Regions from separate parts of the Homo sapiens genome. Here region 1 is linked to region 2. The links are contacts of gene promoters, found by promoter capture Hi-C in human tissues and cell types (Jung and others, 2019). All regions are on one chromosome and are shown on one strand. The core of a region is centred on a gene start or on the middle of the fragment in contact, and the rest is flanking DNA. Distances in the headings are between cores, read along the strand shown.

What was found. Contacts are between HindIII fragments. The study calls those that stand out against the background at their distance.
Region 1: a contact is called between a fragment that was not itself captured here and the fragment with the promoter of SCD in region 2, in 1 of the 25 tissues and cell types used here (dorsolateral prefrontal cortex).

Annotation. Positions count from the first base shown.
Region 1 is chr10:101,431,799-101,435,692 of GRCh38, reverse strand. The region is part of intron 2 of BTRC (beta-transducin repeat containing E3 ubiquitin protein ligase); the gene reads right to left. Among named protein-coding and RNA genes, the nearest start is that of BTRC, 80 kb to the right of the region's middle. The HindIII fragment of the contact is 5,602 bases long and covers 1-3,894 here.
Region 2 is chr10:100,345,436-100,349,227 of GRCh38, reverse strand. It overlaps SCD (stearoyl-CoA desaturase), which reads right to left and starts at 1,995. Exons shown (of 6, transcript NM_005063.5): 1 at 1,697-1,995; 2 at 882-1,164. The coding sequence starts at 1,723. RefSeq lists enhancers at 1,631-1,870, 2,251-2,320, 1,969-2,560 and silencers at 2,101-2,150, 2,351-2,730. The HindIII fragment of the contact is 8,743 bases long and covers 1-3,792 here.

The sequences.
Region 1 (3,894 bases), core at 823-3,322, 1.1 Mb before region 2:
ATAAAAATACATGCCAAAAAAAAGACTTATACAAAACTGTTTATAGTAGCTTTATTAATAATAGGCCAAAATTGGAAACAATCCAAATACCTATCAATAAATGAATGGATAAACAAATTGTGGTGTACTAATATAATGAAATATATTTAACAATAAAAGAGAACTACTGATATACGTAACATGGATAAATCTTAAAAACATCATACTGATTGAAAGAAAACAGACACAAAGAATGTACACTATATGATGGCATTTATATGAAGTAAGTTCAAGAATAGGCAACACAAATTCTTGGTGACAAATCAGAACAGTAATTGCATATGGGGGATGGGTACAGACTGGAAAGGAGTATGAGGAAACTCAGATTATGAAACTGTTGTGTATCTTGAAATTGAAGGTTACACAAAAGTATGCATTTGTCAAAACTCACCTAAGAGTACACTTATGATCCATGTATCTCACTGTATGTAAATTTTACCTAAATAAAAATCTAAGTAAATAATTTACCTAAATAAAAATCTAGGTAAATAAAATAAAACCTAAACCAGAAGGATGCAAATGCACTAAGACTGCTGTAATTCCAGTAGGTGGGCAGAGAAGATACTAGATTCAAATCCAGTTTCTGCCTATTAGTCAACCAGTATTATCAAGCACCTGTGTGTGCTGAACCTGACATAGAACAAATTATTGAATTGATAGGGTAAAACCAGTACATAAGCCCATTTTTGCTACATAAGACATAATAATAATCTTGTTGAGGCCAGGTGCAGTGGCTCATGCCAGTAATCCCAGGACTTTAGGAGGCCGAGGTGGGCAGATCACCTGAAGACAGGAGTTTAAGAACAGCCTGGCCAACATGGCTGAAACCCCGTCTCTACTAAATTTGCGTTTTTAGTAGAGACGGGGTTTCAGCCATGTTGGTCAGGCTGTTCTTAAGCAGTGGTTTTTCACAGGCACTATAGCCCTGAACTCCTGGGCTTAAGCAATCCTCCCGCCTCAGCTTCCTGAGTAGCTGGGACTACAGGCATGCACTGCTGTACCTGGTTCCTGCTCATTTTTTTAAAGTGTCTTTTGAAAAGCAGAATTTTTAAACAGTGATGAAGTCCAATTTATCAGTTATTTCTTTTATGGTTCATATTTTTTGTATCTTAGCTAAGAAATCTCTGCCTAACCCAAAGTCACAATGATTATTTTTGCCACATTTTCTATTAGTTTTATACATGTTAACTCCGATTTAGGTCTATGATCCATTTCAAATTAATTTATGTATATAGTGCAGTATAACCGTTGAGGTTCATTGTTTTGCACAAGGATATCCAATTGTTCCAGCATAATTTATTGAAAAAAACTGAGACCAATGGATTTTAATACAATAACAGAGGAAGTTCATTGATAAGGCTTCAGATACCATACTGCAACTAATCTTCAAGAAACTGCAACTACCTGAAAATGGTATTAAAATATCTTTCCCTTTCAAACTATATACCTATGCCAGGTCAGATATTACTCACATATGTCAACCAAAATAACAAACCACAATAGATTGAGTGCAGAAGCAGACATGAGAATCCAGCTGTCTTTTCTTAATCCAGACATTAAAGAGATTCATAAAAATGTAATACACTAGTCTTAATTTTTTTTGAAAAATATATTTTTCATAAAAATGTTATTTGCATTATATGCCACAGGTTTATTATAGTCTTTAGGTGAATTAAAGAATATTTAATTTTTTTTTCTTAATTCCTATTACAAATATAGTGAATATCAATAGATATAAGCCATATAAACAAAAGCACTTTGGGGTCCTCAATAATTTTTTAAGAATTTAAAGATCCTGGGTCCAAAACCAAGCTGCCATCATCTCTCTCTTCAACTACTGAAATTATCCTTTTTATAGCCAGAGTAACATATCTAAATGCATCTTCTTATAGCCAGAGTAATGCAAATCAGATCAGGTAAAACTTGTGCTTAAATCCTTTCAGTGACTTACTATTCTTAGAATCAAGACTAAACTACACACTTTGAATGGCCCATAAGACCTCAGTGATCAAGCTTCCCCAGTCTTTTCTCACTCTATTCTCCCCTTTCTCTTTATTCTCTGAAACAACAGTCTTGTTTTCAGTAGGGTCCTTAAATGCACCAAGCCTCACTGGCTCTTGGGGCCTTTGCACTGACTCTTCCTTAGGCCTGAAATGTCCTCCTTCTCCTCCATTCCTCCCTGTTATCGAGTTAATTCCTATTCATCCTTCAGCTCTTAAACATTGATTACCTGATCTTCTTTACCTCAAACTTCAGGTTAGATTGGGTCCCCCTTTTATATATTCTTACAGCTCCTTGAACATTCCCTTCCTAGAATTTATCAGCTTGGGAGATTACACTTTCAGAATTATGTGATTTAATAGCTCTCAATCATTTCACAAAATAGAAATATAATAAACATCTATATATGTATGTAAAGTATTCAACACAATGTTGCCAAATACCCAAGATCAATAGTTCTCATCAGATTCCCAAAGAGATCCATGACCCCTGTGTAGTGAAGAATTACTCTTCACCAAAGAAAGGAATGGCCTTTCCTCTTGGCTACTGGAAAGCGGTCTCTGGGCCCCTGGAACTTCTTGTCTGGTGAGAGTATCTCTGCTTGCCTGAGAGATTTAGCGACTGGACAAATGTGATTCATGTTGGGGGCACTAAACCATACCTATAAGTTTCAACACCAGGAGGAAATAAGAGACTAGAAGTCAGCCATGTGAGCAGTATGTGATAGAGCCCCAGTGAATACCTGGACACCAAAGGCTCAGGTCAATTTCATGGTTGGTAATACTCTGTGAGTATTGTCACACACTGCGGCTGGGAGGCAGTAATGCCATCCATGACTCCATGGGGAGAGGATGACAGGAAGTTCTACAATTGGATCCTTCCGAGATTCTGCCCTATGTGTCTCTTCTTTTGGCTAATTTTAACCTGTGTCCTTTTCCTGTAATAAACTGTGAGTATAATTGTTTTCAGTGAATTCTAAGTCCTTTCTAGCAAGTTATCAAACCTAAGAGTGGTTGTGGGGGCCTCTAAACATGAAACTAGTTTCTGAAGTAGGAGCAGCCTTTTAGGCACTACAATTCCCTCAGACTTTGCAGATCGCCTAAACTAACTGCAACCCCGAAAAGGTTAAAAAACAAAACAAAACAAAAAAACCAACAAACTAGACTATGGATTCTTCAATGGCAGAACCTTGTCAGTATGATATGTAGTTAAAAATATAGGATATAGCCAAGTGCAGTGGCTCACATCTGTAATCCCAGCACTTTGGGAGGCTGAGGCAGGCAGATCACTTGAGCTGGGGAGTTCGATACCAGCCTGGACAACATGGTGAAACCCTATCTCCACAAAAAAAATAGAAAAATGAGCCAAGTGTGGTCGTGTGCCTGTAGTCTCAGCTACCCGGAAGTTTGAGGTAGGAGGGCAACTAGAGCCCAGTAGGCAGAGGTTGCTGTGAGTCGAGATTGTGCCACTGCACTCTAGCCTGGACAACAGAGCAAGACTGTCTCAAAAAAAAAAAAAGGAAAAAAAAGATATTTCACTTTGAAATAAATAAGCAGTCTCAGGATATCAATTACTCTCCAATAATAGCAATAATGTTTATAACGATCATGATAAAAGCAGCTACCATCACTGCATGCCCTTACTATAGTATCCATTTACAGATAAGGAAATAAGTTCAGGATCATACCACTAGTGACAAAGACAATATTCAAGACTTGATTTAGCTAATTTTAGAACCTGCATGCTTTACTATATTGTATCTCATAGTATAAGCCAAGGAAGTTTAATATTAAATTTTGTAAAGGAAAACTGAAAATCTTAAGATATTAAATTTTGTAAAGGAAAAATGAAAAT
Region 2 (3,792 bases), core at 746-3,245:
AGGGCAGGTCGGGGACAAACTGGGAACTGTCTCCCTCATTACAGCAGCCTCAAGACCGGGCTCTCTTTTCTGGCCTGGCCTCGATGTCCCTGGCAAGGAGGGATGGGTAGGACTGGTGTTGGAAGGTGCAGAATTCTTGGCACTTCATGGCATCAGTAGGGGGGCCTGAAGCAGGCTGGACGGGGGATGGAACATGAAACATATCTTCAGCCTGATTTCATTCTAAGAGCATTTTGTTGACTGGTATGTGCAGCACCCTGGAATGTAGAGTAACAGAGCAACACACACCTGTGTGACTTGGGTTGCACGGGAGCTTCATCTTCCTCTGTAACGAAGAAGCCTGGTCTGGCCAAGGGGTCAGGTCAAAATAGTTTTGTGGATAACAACCTCTCTTTTCCTCTCTTTCCAATGAGCTCTCTCCTCCCTTTCCAATAAACTCTCTCCCTGAGTAGTTTCCCTTGTGCTAGCCTATGATTGCTCAACACAAACCCTAGAAAGCCAATGGTTTAGTACCATGTTCCCATGCCTCCCAGGTAGAGGGGTTTGATTCTTTTGTGGCTGGCAGGGGTGGGACAGGCAGCCAAGCAAATGACTCAAACAGAAAAGCTCTTTCAGGGAAAGCTGACTCTCCAGCACAGCACACTTCAAAGCCCACAAGCACAAGGTTCCAAAGCTCTCAACCCCCAGCATTGACAGTCCTGCATCTCAGTACCCCCAGGTTCTTCCCAGCCCACTAGGCCTGAAGCAACCAAAGAGAAATGCCTGAGAAAAACCCCAACCGGGAGGCTGGGAGGGGCTGGTGTCCTCTGTAAGATCCTACCTTATTAAAAGAGCAGTGAGTACCTGGAGGACTAGGTCAGGAGGACAGGGAGGCTGCTTACCCCAAAGCCAGGTGTAGAACTTGCAGGTAGGAATCAAAGTGATCCCATACAGGGCTCCCAAGTGTAGCAGAGACATAAGGATGATGTTTCTCCAGACATATTCAACCTTGGGGCTTGGGCCTTCCTTATCCTTGTAGGTGGGGTCATATATATCATCTTTTATATCAGGGCGAATGTCGTCTTCCAAGTAGAGGGGCATCGTCTCCAACTTATCTCCTCCATTCTGCAGGACCCTGGAGGGAGGCGCTGTAATGGTGGTGGTGGTGGTATAGGAGCTAGAGATCTGGAAGGGGGAGGAAGAGGAGAGTCAGGAGAAGAGACACGTGGAGGCAGCTGGGGCCACTCCGCTCTCTAATCACGCTGGGGGAAGGGTGGACAGTACGGACCCTTCCGCAGCGCCGTAGTTCACTGAGGGTAGGGTGTATCCGAGACGCAACGGAGAAAAGTTCCCTGAAACTGTACAGATACATTAGGGGCGGAGGGCGAGGGGGACGAGGGGCGCGAAACCTATCGGGAGGCGGCAGTAGGAAGGAGAAGTAAAGCACTCACATCCCCACGAAGACAAAGGAAAACCCGCATAATTCATAAAAGCACCAGCACGACCGGATTTTTCTTTAAAGCTTAAGAAACTAAAGTTGGAGACTCAAGTCCCCAAATTACAATCCACATTCCCAACTCACGGAAGGCAGCACAACTCGAAAAAGATGACCAAGTCCTCCGCGGAGCTCTCCCCTCTCTTCTGCCACCAACCCGTCCCCTGGAAGCCCAGCCCGCGCCTGCGACCCGGCGGTACGGGGCCAGGCTGGGAAACTCACATCGTCCTGCAGCAAGTGGGCCGGCATCTTGGCTCTCGGATGCCGGGATCACTTTCCAGGGGGCTGAGGCTCCGGAGCGGAGTTCGGGGTCGCCGGAGGACTGCGGTTTCGAAGCCCGCCGGTACGCGCTGAGCCGCGGCGCCTTGCACGCTAGCTGGTTGTCGGCGCTAGCCGCGGTGCGTGGAGGTCCCCGAGCCGGGAATTTAAAGGCTAGAGCTGGCAACGGGTGACCGTGTCCGGTATTTCCTCAGCCCCCTTTTATCCGCTGCCAAGCAGGGGCAAAGTGCGAGGAGTTGACTGGCGCGGGCGGTCCCGCGTGGAGGTAAGGGCGGGAGGGGGAGGAGACAGAGGCCGAGGCTCGCGGCGACCGCAGCAGGGCGCCGGGGATGCTGCCGACACCGACACCACACCACCCGGCCTCTGCCCCTGCCCCTGCCTCTGGGGAAATGCTAATGAGGCTTCTGTAAACTCCGGCTCGTCATTGGCCGAAGGGAATTTGGTGCCACCTCGTCCTGCCGTTGCCATTGGCTCGGCGCAATCTGCTGTTCCCTCTGCCGCCAGCTCCTCGCTCCCCCTCCCCTCTGTTTCTCCTTCTCAGCTTCTCTTCCACCCGCCGCTGGGCCTCTGCCCGGCATCCCGCGTCGGGAGCTTTCTCTCTGGAAGGGGCTGGGGACCCGGTTTGGGGCTGGGGCGCGGAGCCTAGCCCAGGACCGGCCCTCGGGCACACGGAGAACGGGTGGGTGGGCACTGGGGAAGTTTCTCAGGAAACAGTGGTGAACCCTCGGGGGGCGCCCACCACTAACATCTCCGTCCCGTCTTCCGTCCCCCCAGGCGCGTGGCAGGGAGACGTGGCAGCCACCCCAGGATCTGGAGCTTGGGGGACGCGGGAAGCCCCGCCTCCCTCCCGGGCGAGCGCGGGGGACTCGGTACGCCTGCGAACAATGGCTCTGCCCCGCCCACCAGCCACGCGCTGCTCACCCGGGACCGCACCGGACTCCGGCCGCACACACAGGCTGGCTGGTGTGTGTGTGCCTGCGCGCACGCATCCTGTTCAGGACCCGGGCGGGCAGTCCCATCCCCAAGCCCGCGCCTCCAGGATGCGTGCGGGATGTTTTGGAGATTCTTCAGACTGGCAGGTTGTAATTTTGGAATCTTCTTTGTGGAAACCGTCAGGAAACACTGACATGTGTTTTCACCCAGCAGCAGGCGAAAGGGCTTGGATGTGGAATAAGAATAGCTGGCAGGTATTGAATTATTACTGCAAGCCAATTCACAAGAATCGTTTTCTGTAAGCCTCTCTGTGACCCTGGGAGGTGGGTACCCCATTATTCCATTTTAAAAGTGAGGAAAGAGATATGGAGAGATGGAATAACTTGCCCATGGTCACAGCAACCAGTAAGTGATGGAGCTGGCAGTTGAGCCCAGAAACACCATATGAGAGCCCAAGCTCTTAATCCCTGCTCAGGACCATATTGCCCTCGGTCCCTGAGATGCTCTGACCCTACTGATCTGTCCCTGTGCCCCCATCTTTTCCGTGTCTGTAGGAGCCTTACCATGAGAGCTCAGAACCAGGCAGGCTATGCATTCACCCGGTGTCCTTCCATGCCCATGTCTTTCCCAAATACTGCCCTAGGATCCTTCCCCTGGGAAGAGGAGAAAATACGGAGTGCTGCGCCAATGATTCACTTCCCAGGAAGACAAGCACCTGGGATTTCCTGGGAGGTAGACTAAGCAGCTCCTTTGTTGGCCACTGGTCTCAGGGTCAGGCCAACTCTCTGGCCAGTGACCAGGAGACTGCATTCCAGTCCTGGCTCCCTGTCCGGTGTGAAAGTTCTGAACAAGACTGGATGATTTCAGATGTGGACAGCTCATCCAGTCATGCCTCAGAAGTACTTGGCATGTGGCACAGAAATCTGTACGTGGTCTGACCCCCTTCAGGTTCTCTCTGCAATGTCTAATTTGCTTAATTCTTTTGTTTTTTGTTTTTTTGAGAGGAAGTCTCGCTCTCTCCCCCAGGCTGGAGTGCAGTGGTGTGATCTCGCTTCACTGCAACCTCTGCCTCCCGGGTTCAAGAAATTCTCCTGCCTCACCCTCCC